4 separate regions of the Homo sapiens genome follow, and all the other regions are linked to region 1. The links are contacts of gene promoters, found by promoter capture Hi-C in human tissues and cell types (Jung and others, 2019). All regions are on one chromosome and are shown on one strand. Each heading gives the region's core, a stretch centred on a gene start or on the middle of the fragment in contact. The rest is flanking DNA. Distances are from core to core; before and after follow the strand shown.

Evidence for each region. The method cuts DNA at HindIII sites, captures the fragments that hold promoters and counts their contacts. A contact is called where the count stands out against the background at its distance.
Region 2: a contact is called between a fragment that was not itself captured here and the fragment with the promoter of L3MBTL4 in region 1, in 1 of the 25 tissues and cell types used here (mesenchymal stem cells).
Region 3: a fragment that was not itself captured here is called in contact with the fragment with the promoter of L3MBTL4 in region 1 in 1 of the 25 tissues and cell types used here (bladder).
Region 4: a contact is called between a fragment that was not itself captured here and the fragment with the promoter of L3MBTL4 in region 1, in 1 of the 25 tissues and cell types used here (bladder).

Annotation. Positions count from the first base shown.
Region 1 is chr18:6,413,638-6,416,224 of GRCh38, reverse strand. It overlaps L3MBTL4 (L3MBTL histone methyl-lysine binding protein 4), which reads left to right and starts at 1,314. Exons shown (of 19, transcript NM_001330559.2): 1 at 1,314-1,424. RefSeq lists a silencer at 1,272-1,811. The HindIII fragment of the contact is 7,728 bases long and covers 1-2,587 here.
Region 2 is chr18:6,349,985-6,352,571 of GRCh38, reverse strand. The region is part of intron 1 of L3MBTL4 (L3MBTL histone methyl-lysine binding protein 4); the gene reads left to right. Among named protein-coding and RNA genes, the nearest start is that of MIR4317, 23 kb to the left of the region's middle. The HindIII fragment of the contact is 5,033 bases long and covers 1-2,587 here.
Region 3 is chr18:6,464,515-6,467,101 of GRCh38, reverse strand. No RefSeq gene overlaps it. Among named protein-coding and RNA genes, the nearest start is that of LINC01387, 46 kb to the left of the region's middle. The HindIII fragment of the contact is 4,008 bases long and covers 1-2,587 here.
Region 4 is chr18:6,378,971-6,381,557 of GRCh38, reverse strand. All of the region lies in intron 1 of L3MBTL4 (L3MBTL histone methyl-lysine binding protein 4), which reads left to right. Among named protein-coding and RNA genes, the nearest start is that of MIR4317, 5.8 kb to the right of the region's middle. The HindIII fragment of the contact is 3,782 bases long and covers 1-2,587 here.

The DNA of each region.
Region 1 (2,587 bases), core at 65-2,564:
GCCCAGGCTGGAGTGCAGTGGTACTATCTCAGCTCACTGGAGCCTCTGCCTCCCAGGTTCAAGCGATTCTAGTGTCTCAGCCTCCCGAGTAGTTGAGATTACAGGCGCCCGCCACCACACCCAGCTAATTTCGTATTTTTAGTAGAGACAGGGTTTCACCATGTTGGCCAGGCTGGTCTCGAACTCCTGACCTCAAGTGATCCGCCCTCTTCGGCCTCCCAAAGTGCTGGGATTACAGATGTGAGCCGCCATACCTGGCTAATATATTTTTCTTAACTGACTAGAGCACAGAACACAAATCGTGTGTTTGCACTTACAAATTTCTATGATCATTGTTCCTAGTTTAAAAACTTCATTAGCAAAGGGGTTTATATTTCTCTTTTCAGTAAGGACACGAAATTATGTTTCAACAATGCCCAGTCTCACCTAAAAAGCAAGTTTTCATTCTCTGTTTATGGTAGCCCACGACAAACCAAAAAGATCATTTTGGATGGTATCATTGTTAATCCTGCTAAATGATTCAATTTCCTGCTGAAAGCAACAAACTAATACTTATTTAGTACCTACTATTTATTATTTGCATACTAGGGTTTATACACAAGGCGTCCTATGAAAGAACATTTCATTCAAAAGTCACAACATATAGTCTTCAATTATCAGCTACCTTTATTTGTAAGCCAAAATAAATGATTTAATACAGTCCTCCCAAACTGGGAGACAATGCTTTGAGAAAGGCCAAAGCTAGCCAGTAAGGCCATAAGTTCCATGAGGGCAGGATCTACCCAGCTCCTGTTTCCTGCTCAATTCCAAGCAGTTAGAACAGGGTCAGTAAACACTGCTTGCCACTTGGAAAGAGTATTCTTTTATTTGGAAATGGTATCCAGGTACTCGTGAGTAGCAAAGTCAAGAGCAGGAAAGGGGAGTGGGGGAGGTTGCAAAATCGGAGCGAGCAGCAGGACCGAGAGGGATCCGGAGGAGAGAGCCTTCAGACGGTGAACCCCAAGAGCTGGGATGAAGCATGGGTGAGCTACTGGGACTTCGCTGCCAGGGAGCAAGCTGGCAGGCAGGAAGTAGCCAAGATTTGGGGGAATCCTTCCCAGGGAACGAATACAGAGAAGGACGCATCTGAAAATTCCGCCGCAGCCACCTCCCTCCCATGGGAAAGCCCCGACCTCGGCGGGCCCAGCGCCACCCGGCTCCCCGGGGTGTGGAACACTGAGCGAGGCAGGTGCGGCGGGAGCATGCGCGCGGGGCGGGCAGGGGGCGGCTCCCGCGCCCCCACCCCGCGCGTGCACCCTCGCGCCCCTCCCGCCGGGCACCGCGGGGCAGCGGCGCCGCAGCCTGGGCTGGCGGAACCTCGCGCTCCGACTCGCCCCCCGCCTGTAGCTCGGTCGGCGTTGCGGGCAGGCGCCGCTCCGCTGGGGGTAAGAAGGACGCCGCCGCCCGCGTGGGATGGTCGCGAGCCCGCGTGGGTGCCCACGGCCGCCGCCGCGCGGGGTGGCCCCATCCCCGGGCAGGTAGAGGGGCCTGCACGACTCCCGCGGCGAGGGCCGGGCCGGTGGGGGCGGTGGCGGTTGGGGATAGCCCCGGTCCCGGCCCAGGCTCTTTCTCTTTCTCTTTCGCCGCCGGGGCGCGCGCCGGGCTCCCCGCGAGAGGCGCTGCCTCACTTGTCGCCTACTTTGGACGGGCGCGGCCGCCGCAGAGCCCGGCGCCTCGGTCAGCCGCGAGGGCAGGGTCGGGGTGCCAGGCGCGGCTACCTGGGCGCCCTGGAGCCAGCGCAGCCTGGGACCGGGGGAGCGGGACGGGACGGGACTCCTGAGGGCCCCCAGGCAGTCCTCCGGCCATCGAGCGCCCGGCGGTGGGCATTTGGCTTTTGTTTCCTCTGGGGCTAACGCCCCCGTCTGCCCGCGTGTCCCCCTCAGCCGACAAGTGTCGTGTGCCCGGACGGGCGAGCGCTGCCTCCCTCCACCCGCTTTCTGCCCTTGTCTTCCTCTGCGAGTTCTGCCCAGCCTCGGGAGCGGGAGCCCAGGGAGTGCGCGCAGGGCGGGCGGGCGCCTGGCCAGCCTGGGACGGCGGCTCTCAGGCTCCTGCCACCGCCTGGAACTGCGGGGGGCGCGCCGGCCACAGTCGCCCTCGCCTGCTCTCCGGGCCTTCTTGGGCCCGCTTGGTCCCAGGTGGACGCGAGTCGAGCTGGGCACACCTGGGCCAGCGCCGCACTTACCTGCGGGATTGGTGAGAGCGTTTTCGCGAGGTCGCAAATTCCGGGTGGGTATTGTCCCCTGCTTTTGATCTCCCTTAGTCACTGGTTAAAGTGCGAAGTGTGCTTTATCTTACATATGCCTTTAGAGGGACATTCTTAATGCGCCAATGCCCCGAGGTGGAACTAAATAAAGGGAAGGCCTGGTCATTGTTACTGTTGAGACTGCTGTACTTAACAGTCAGAGGAAGGCAGCTGGTCACCACGACCCACTCGGCCATTCCCATGCTGAAGACTCGCTCTCACTTCACACTTGTTTGGACTCCACTATGACTTGCTGGTGGCCCATCTCCTGGATCCTTCTGTTGGAGCTGTTCTAGAAGATGCTTG
Region 2 (2,587 bases), core at 61-2,560, 64 kb after region 1:
TGGCAGTGACAAATAGTCACAATAAAGTTCATAGTAATCTCATCAACCACTTTTTATTTTTCCTCTAGATCAGAAGATAGAGCATGTGATATGGAAGTTTTCTTAGCTACCATGAGAATATTTACCATCTCCTTTTATCATAATAGGCTCTCAATAAATTTTGAATGACTAAAGGTAAATATTTATAATTTATTGAGAGCCTTCTGTGGAATGGACTGTTCTAAGTGAATGCATTAATTTATAGATCTAAACTCAGCCAAAAGATTCAGCTCATAAAGATGAGGAGATTGGGTTTGTAGAAGAGGAGGTAATTACTTTGAGGTGAAATGATCATGATGTGTTGGGATCTTTGGTTGTGTCTTTTAAGTGGCTAGGTGCTCCAGATTTTAAAAGATTTGGCAGAGAATGCTGAGAGTGACCACATTTTGAGTAATTACTAGCAGTGAGAAGGGAGAGAAGCAAAAAAATTTAAACCCACCTGTCTTTCCTTCTTGGCAGGGGGAAATTCACTTATAGTAGCAGCTATTAGTATAATACCCAGAAAATAATATAAGCACAATAAACTTTTTATAAAGAAATCAACTTTTGACTTGAGTGGTGGCTCATGCCTGTCATCCCAGCACTTTGTGGGGCTGAGGCAGGAGGATTGCTTGAGGCCAGGAGTTTGAGACCAGCATGGGCAACATATTGAGACCCTGTCTCTTAAAAAAATCAACATTTAGGCTGGGCGCGGTTGCTCACGCCTGTAATCCCAGCACTTTGGGAGGCTGAGGCGGGCGGATCACGAGGTCAGGAGATTGAGACCATCCTGGCTAACATGGTGAAACCCCGTCTCTACTAAAAATACAAAAAATTAGCCGGGGGTGGTGGCAGGCGCCTGTGGTCCCAGCTACTCGGGAGGCTGAGGCAGGAGAATGGCGTGAACCCGGGAGGCGGAGCTTGCAGTGAGCCGAGATCACGCCACTGCACTCCAGCCTGGGCGACAGAGCGAGACTCCATCTCAAAAAAAAAAATAAAAAATCCACATTTAAAAATTGCGGTATAATATACATAATACAAAATTTACTTAACCATTTTCAGTGATCACTCAGTGGCATTAAGCACATTCACATTGTTGTGCAGCCACCACTACCATCCACCTCCAGAACTTTTTTGTCATCCCAAACTGCAATTCTGTATTCAGTAAACAATCAATCCCCATTGCCTTCTCCCCCAGACCCTGGTAGCTACCATTCTACTTTCCGTCTTTATGAATTTGACAATTCTAGGTACCTCATATAAGTGGAATAATACAATATTTGTTCTTTAGTATCTGGCTTATTTTGCTTAGCATAATGTTTTCAAGATTCATTTATGTTGTAGTATGCGCTTTTTTCGAGATGGAGTCTCGCTGCATCTCCCAGGCTGGAGTGCAGTGGCGTGATTTTGGCTCACTGCAACCTCCGCCTCCCTCGTTCAAGTGATTCTTCTGCCTCAGCCTCTTGAGTAGCTGGGATTACAGGTGCGTGCCACCACACTTGGCTAATTTTTAAAAATATTTTTAGGAGAGATGGGGTTTCACCATGTTGGCTAGGCTGGTCTTGAACTCCTGACCTCAGGTGATCTGTCCGCTTTAGCCTCCCAAAGTGCTGGGATTTCAGGCATGAGCCACTGTGCCTGGCCTAGAATTTCATTTTTTAAGGCTGAATAATATTCCATTGTATGTTTATACTACATTTTCTTTATCGATTCATCCATAATGGACATGTAGGTTGTTTCTACTCTTTGGCTATTGTGAATAATGTTGCCATTTACATTGGTGCACTAATTTCTGTTTGGGTCCCTGCTTTCACTTCTTTTCAGTTTATACCTAGAAGTGAAATTGCTATGTCATATGGTAACTCTATGCTTTATTATTTTAGGAACCACCATACCGTTTTCTATAGTGGCTGTACCATTTTACATTCCCACTTGCAATGCACAGGGTATTCACTTCTCCACATCTTTATCAACACTTTTTGTTTTCCGTTTTTTTTTTTCTTTTTTATATTAGCCATCCTATGTGTAAAGTGGTATCTCATTGTGGTTTTGATTTGTATTTTTTCATGATTATTGGCTATTAGAATATCCTCTTTGGAGAAATGTCTGTTCAAGTTCTTTGCCCATTTTTCAACTGAGTCATTTGTATTTTGTTGTTGAGATTATGAGTTCTTTATATATTCTGGATATTAATCCCTTATGAGATACATGATTTGCAAATATTTTCTCCCATTCGGTGGATTGCCTTCCACTCTCTTGGTATTGTTCTCTTATGCACAAACGTTTTCAGCTTTGATGGAGTCAAATTTATTTACTTATTCTTTGGTTGCTTGCGTTTTTGACATCATTGTTGTTGCCAAATCCAATGCCGTGAGGGTTTTCACTTATGTTTTCTTCTAGGAGTTTTATAGTTTCAGCTATTATGTTTAGGTCTTTTGTTCATTTTAAACTAATTTTTGTATATGGTGTAAGGTAAAGGACCAGCTCCATTATTTTGCATGTGAATATCCAGTTTTCTCAATGCCATTTGTGGACTCAAACTTAAGTAAGCTTTTTATTAAACTATGAC
Region 3 (2,587 bases), core at 1-2,500, 51 kb before region 1:
CTCAGAATGCAAGAATTGTTCAAGATAAAATCAATCAATGCAACATAGCATGTTAAGGAAAAAAAACATAATAATATAAATAGGTACAAAAAAATTGGACAAAATGTAACACCCTCTCATGATAAAAACAGTAAACTAGGAATCGAAAGGAATTTCATCAATATCATGTGTAAATCTCACAGCTAATGGTGAGCCAATTCAATGGTGAGTGAATGAAAATGGGTTGGGGGCATCCGTGTCAGAAAGGAAGAAATAAAATATCTATCTTTACAGATGATACGAAGTTAAAAAAAAAAAAACAAAAAACTATTAGAGTTAAATGAACTCAGCAAAGTTACAGGGTACAGAATCAATACTCAAAAATCTGTTGTATTTCTAAACACTAGCAATTAACAATTTTAAAAGGAAATTAAGAAAACCATTTCACTTACAATAAGCATCAAAAAGAATAAAATACCCGGGGGTAAATTTAACCAACGAGACAGATAAAAACATTAAAAACTCTTGTGTGGGCCGGGCGCAGTGGCTCATGCCTGTAATCTCAGCACTTTCGTAGGCTGAGACGGGCGGGTCGCGAGGTCAGGAGATGGAGACCATCCTGGCTAACATGGTGAAACCCCGTCTCTACTAAAAACACAAAAAAATTAGCAGGGCGTGGTGGCGGGCGCCTGTAGTCCCAGCTACTCGGGAGGCTGAGGCAGGAGAATGACGTGAACTCGGGAGGCAGAGCTTGCAGTGAGCCGAGATCGCGCCACTGCACTCCAGCCTGGACTACAGAGTGAGACTCTGTCTCAAAAAACAAAACAAAACAAAACAAAACTAACCCAAAAAAACACAAAACACAAAACGCAAACACACACACACACACGTGTGTGTTAAAAACACTGAAAACACTGCTGATTGGCCGGGAACGGTGGCTCATGCCTGCAATTCCAGCACTTTGGAAGGCTGAGGAAGGCGGATCACCGAGGTCAGGAGTTCAAGACCAGCCTGGCCAACATGGCAAAACCCTTCTCTAATAAAAATACAAAAATTATCTGGGCATAGTGGCGTGTGCCTGTAGTCCTAGCTACTCGGAGGCTGAGGCAGGAGAATCACTTGAACCTGGAAGGCAGAGGTTGCAGTGAGCCCAGATCATGCCACTGAACTCCATCTTGGGTGACAGAGCAGGACTCTGTCTCAAAAACCAAACCAAACCAAACCAAAACAAAACCACTGCTGGTAGAAATTAAAGAAGAGTTAAATGGATGGAAAGAAATCCTATATTCATGGATTAGAAGACCAATCCATGATCAATAAGCACATGAAATGATGCTCAACATCATTAGTGATCAAGATGATGTAAATCCAACCAAGATGATGTAAATCCAAACCACATGAGATACCACATCATACTCATAATGATGACTTTTTTTAAAATAGGAAATAACAAATGTTAGCCAGCATATAGAGAGATGGGAAGCCTCATGCATTATTGGTGGAAATATAATATGGTGCAGTGCTATGAAAAACAATCTGTTCGTTCCTCAAAAAGTTAAAGATGGAATTATTATATAATCTGCAATTCCAGTTCTATGAAAATACATTAAAAATTGAAAACATGGACTTGAACAGATATTGCACAACACATATAAGTTAATCATGGAATTATCATATAATCCAGTAATTCCACTCCTAGGTAAATACATAAAAGAATTAAAAACTGTACTTGAACAGATATTGCACACCACATAGCAGCATTATTTACAATACCTAAAAGGTGGAAGCAATAAAAGCCTATTGGTGAATGAATGAATATACAAAATCTGGTATATACATATAATGGAATATTATTCAATCATGAAAAGGAATGAGGTTCTGATGCATACTATGACATGGATGAACTTTGAAAATACAATGCCATGTATGATTCCACTTATATGAGGAGTCTAGAATATGTAAATTCATAGAGACAGAAGGTAGAATAGAGGTTACTAGGGGCTGTTTGGAGAGAGGATTGGGGAGTTATTGTTAACTGGATACATACTTTCTCTTTGAGATTATGAAAAAGTTTGAAAATAATAGTGATAATTACACAACATTAGGAATGTACTTAATGTCACTGAATTGTAAACATAAAATAATCAATATGATAAATTTTATTTTGTGTATATTTTACCACAATTAAAAAGTTACCAAACAAACGAACAGCTACATCCCACAGCCGGCAGAAAAACAAACCCTGAAGAGCTGAAGCATAAGATTTCCAGAGTTATTACATTATAATATTCAGAATAGCCAATTTTCTGTAAAAATTATGAAGCATGCAAAGGAACAAGAAAATATGGCCCTTTCACAGAAGAAATTTGCAGAAATTTTACATGAAGAAGTACAGATGTTGGATTCACTAGACAAAGACAAATCAACTGTCTTACATATGCTCAAGGAGCTAAAGGAGAACAGAAGAGTTATTCATGAGCAAATAGTGAAAATTAATGAGGAGAAAGAAGTTACAAACAAGAGCTAAACAGAAATTCGCAGCCAGAAAAGTACAATAACTGAAATAAAATTCACTAAAGGGTTTCAATGGAAAATATAAGCAGAAGAA
Region 4 (2,587 bases), core at 61-2,560, 35 kb after region 1:
ACAAGCAAATGCTGAGAGATTTTGTCACCACCAGGCCTGCCTGGCAAGAGCTCCTGAAGGAAGCACTAAACATGGAAAGGAACAACCGGTACCAACCACAGCAAAAACATAACAAATTGTATAGACCATTGACACTATGAAGAAACTGCTTCAACTAATGGGCAAAATAACCAGCTAGCATCATAGTGAAAGAATCAAATTCACACATAAGAATATTAACCTTAAATGTAAATGGGCTAAATGCCCCAATTAAAAGACACAGGCTGGCAAATTGGATAAAGAGTCAAGACCCATCAGTGTGCTGTATTCAGGAGGCCCATCTCATGTGCAAAGACACACATAGGCTCCAAATAAAGGGATGGAGTAATATTTACCAAGCAAATGGAAAGAAAAAAAATTAAAAATAAAAAAAGCAGGAGTTGCAATCCTAATCTCTGGTAAAACAGACTTTAAACCAACAAAGATCAAAAGAGACAAAGAAGGCCATTACATAATGGTAAAGGGATCAATGCAACAAGAAGAGCTAAGTATCCTAAATATATATGCACCCCATACAGTAGCACCCAGATGCATAAAGCAAGTTCTTAGAGATCTATGAAGAGACTTAGACTCCCACACAATAATAGTGGGAGACTTTAACACCTCACTGTCAATATTAGACAGATCAACAAGACAGAAAATTAACAAGGATATTCAGGACTTGAACTCAGCTCTGGACCAAGTGGACCTAATAGACATCTACAGAACTCTCCACCCCAAATCAACAGAATATACATTATTCTCAGCACCTCGTCGCACTTATTCTAAAATTGACCGTATAATTGGAAGTAAAACATTCCTTAGCAAATGCAAAAGAATGGGAAGCATAATAAACTGTCTCTCAGACCACAGTGCAATCAAATTAGAACTCAGGATTAAGAAACTCACTTAAAACCGCACAACTACATGGAAACTGAACAACCTGCTCCCGAATGACTACTGGGTAAATAATGAAATGAAGGCAGAAATAAAGATGTTCTTTGAAACCAATGAGAACAACAACACAATGTACCAGAATCTCTGGGACACATTTAAAGCAGTGTGTAGAGGGAAATGTATAGCACTAAATGCCCACAAGGGAAAGCAGAAAAGATCTAAAATTGACACCCTAACATCAAAATTAAAAGAACTAGAGAAGCAAGAGCAAACAAATTCAAAAGGTAGCAGAAGACAAGAAATAATGAAGATTAGAGCAGAACTGAAGGAGATAGAGACACGAAAAACCCTTCAAAAAATCAATGAATCCAGGAGTTGGTTTTTTGAAAAGATCAACAAAATAGATAGACTGCTAGCCAGACTAATAAAGAAGACAAGAGAGAAGAATCAAATAGACACAATAAAAATGATATAGGGAATATCACCACTGATCCCACAGAAATACAAACTGCCATCAGAGAATATCATGAACACCTCTACGCAAATAAACTAGAAAATCTAGAAGAGATGGATAAATTCCTGCACATATACACCCTCCCAAGACTAAACCAGGAAGAAGTCGAATCCCTAAAGAGACCAATAACAAATTCTGAAATTGAGGCAGTAATTAATAGCCTACCAACCAAAAAAAGTCCAGGACCAGACGGATTCACAGCTGAATTCTACCAGAGGTACAAGGAGGAGCTGGTACCATTCCTTCTGAAACGATTCCAATCAATAGAAAAAGAGAGAATCCTCCCTAACTCATTTTATGAGGCCAGCATCATTCCGATACCAAAACCTGGCAGAGACAAAACAGAAAAAGAAATTTTCATTCCAATATCCCTGATGAACATTGATGCAAAAATCCTCAATAAAATACTGGCAAAACGAATCCTGCAGCACATCGAAAAGCTTATCCACCACGATCAAGTCGGCTTCATATCTGGGATGCAAGGCTGGTTCAACATATGCAAATCAATAAATGTAATCCATCACATAAACAGAACCAATGACAAAAACCACATGATTATCTCAATAGATGCAGAAAAGGCCTTGGACAAAATTCAACTTGCCTTCATGCTAAAAACTTTCAATAAACTAGGTATCGATGGAACATATATCAAAATAATAAGAGCTATGTATGACAAACCCACAGCCAATATCATACTGAATGGGCAAAAACTGGAACATTTCCTTTGAAAACTGGCACAAGACAAGGATGCCCTATCTCACCACTCCTATTCAACATAGTATTGGAAGTTCTGGCCAGGGCAATGAGGAAAGAGAAAGAAATAAAGGCTATTCAAATAGGAAAAGAGGAAGTCAAATTGTCCCTGTTTGCAGATAACATGATTGTGTATTTAGAAAACCCCATGATCTCAGCCCAAAATCTCCTTAAGCTGATAAGCAACTTCAGTAAAGTCTCAGGATAAAAAATCAATGTGCAAAAATCACAAGCATTCCTATACAACAATAACAGACAAACAGAGCCAAATCATGAGTGAACTCTTATTCACAATTGCTAGTAAGAGAAGAAAATACCTAGGAATACAACTTACAAGGGATGTGAAGGATCTCTTCAAGGAGAACTACAAACCACTGCTCAAGGAAATAAGAGAGGACACAAGTA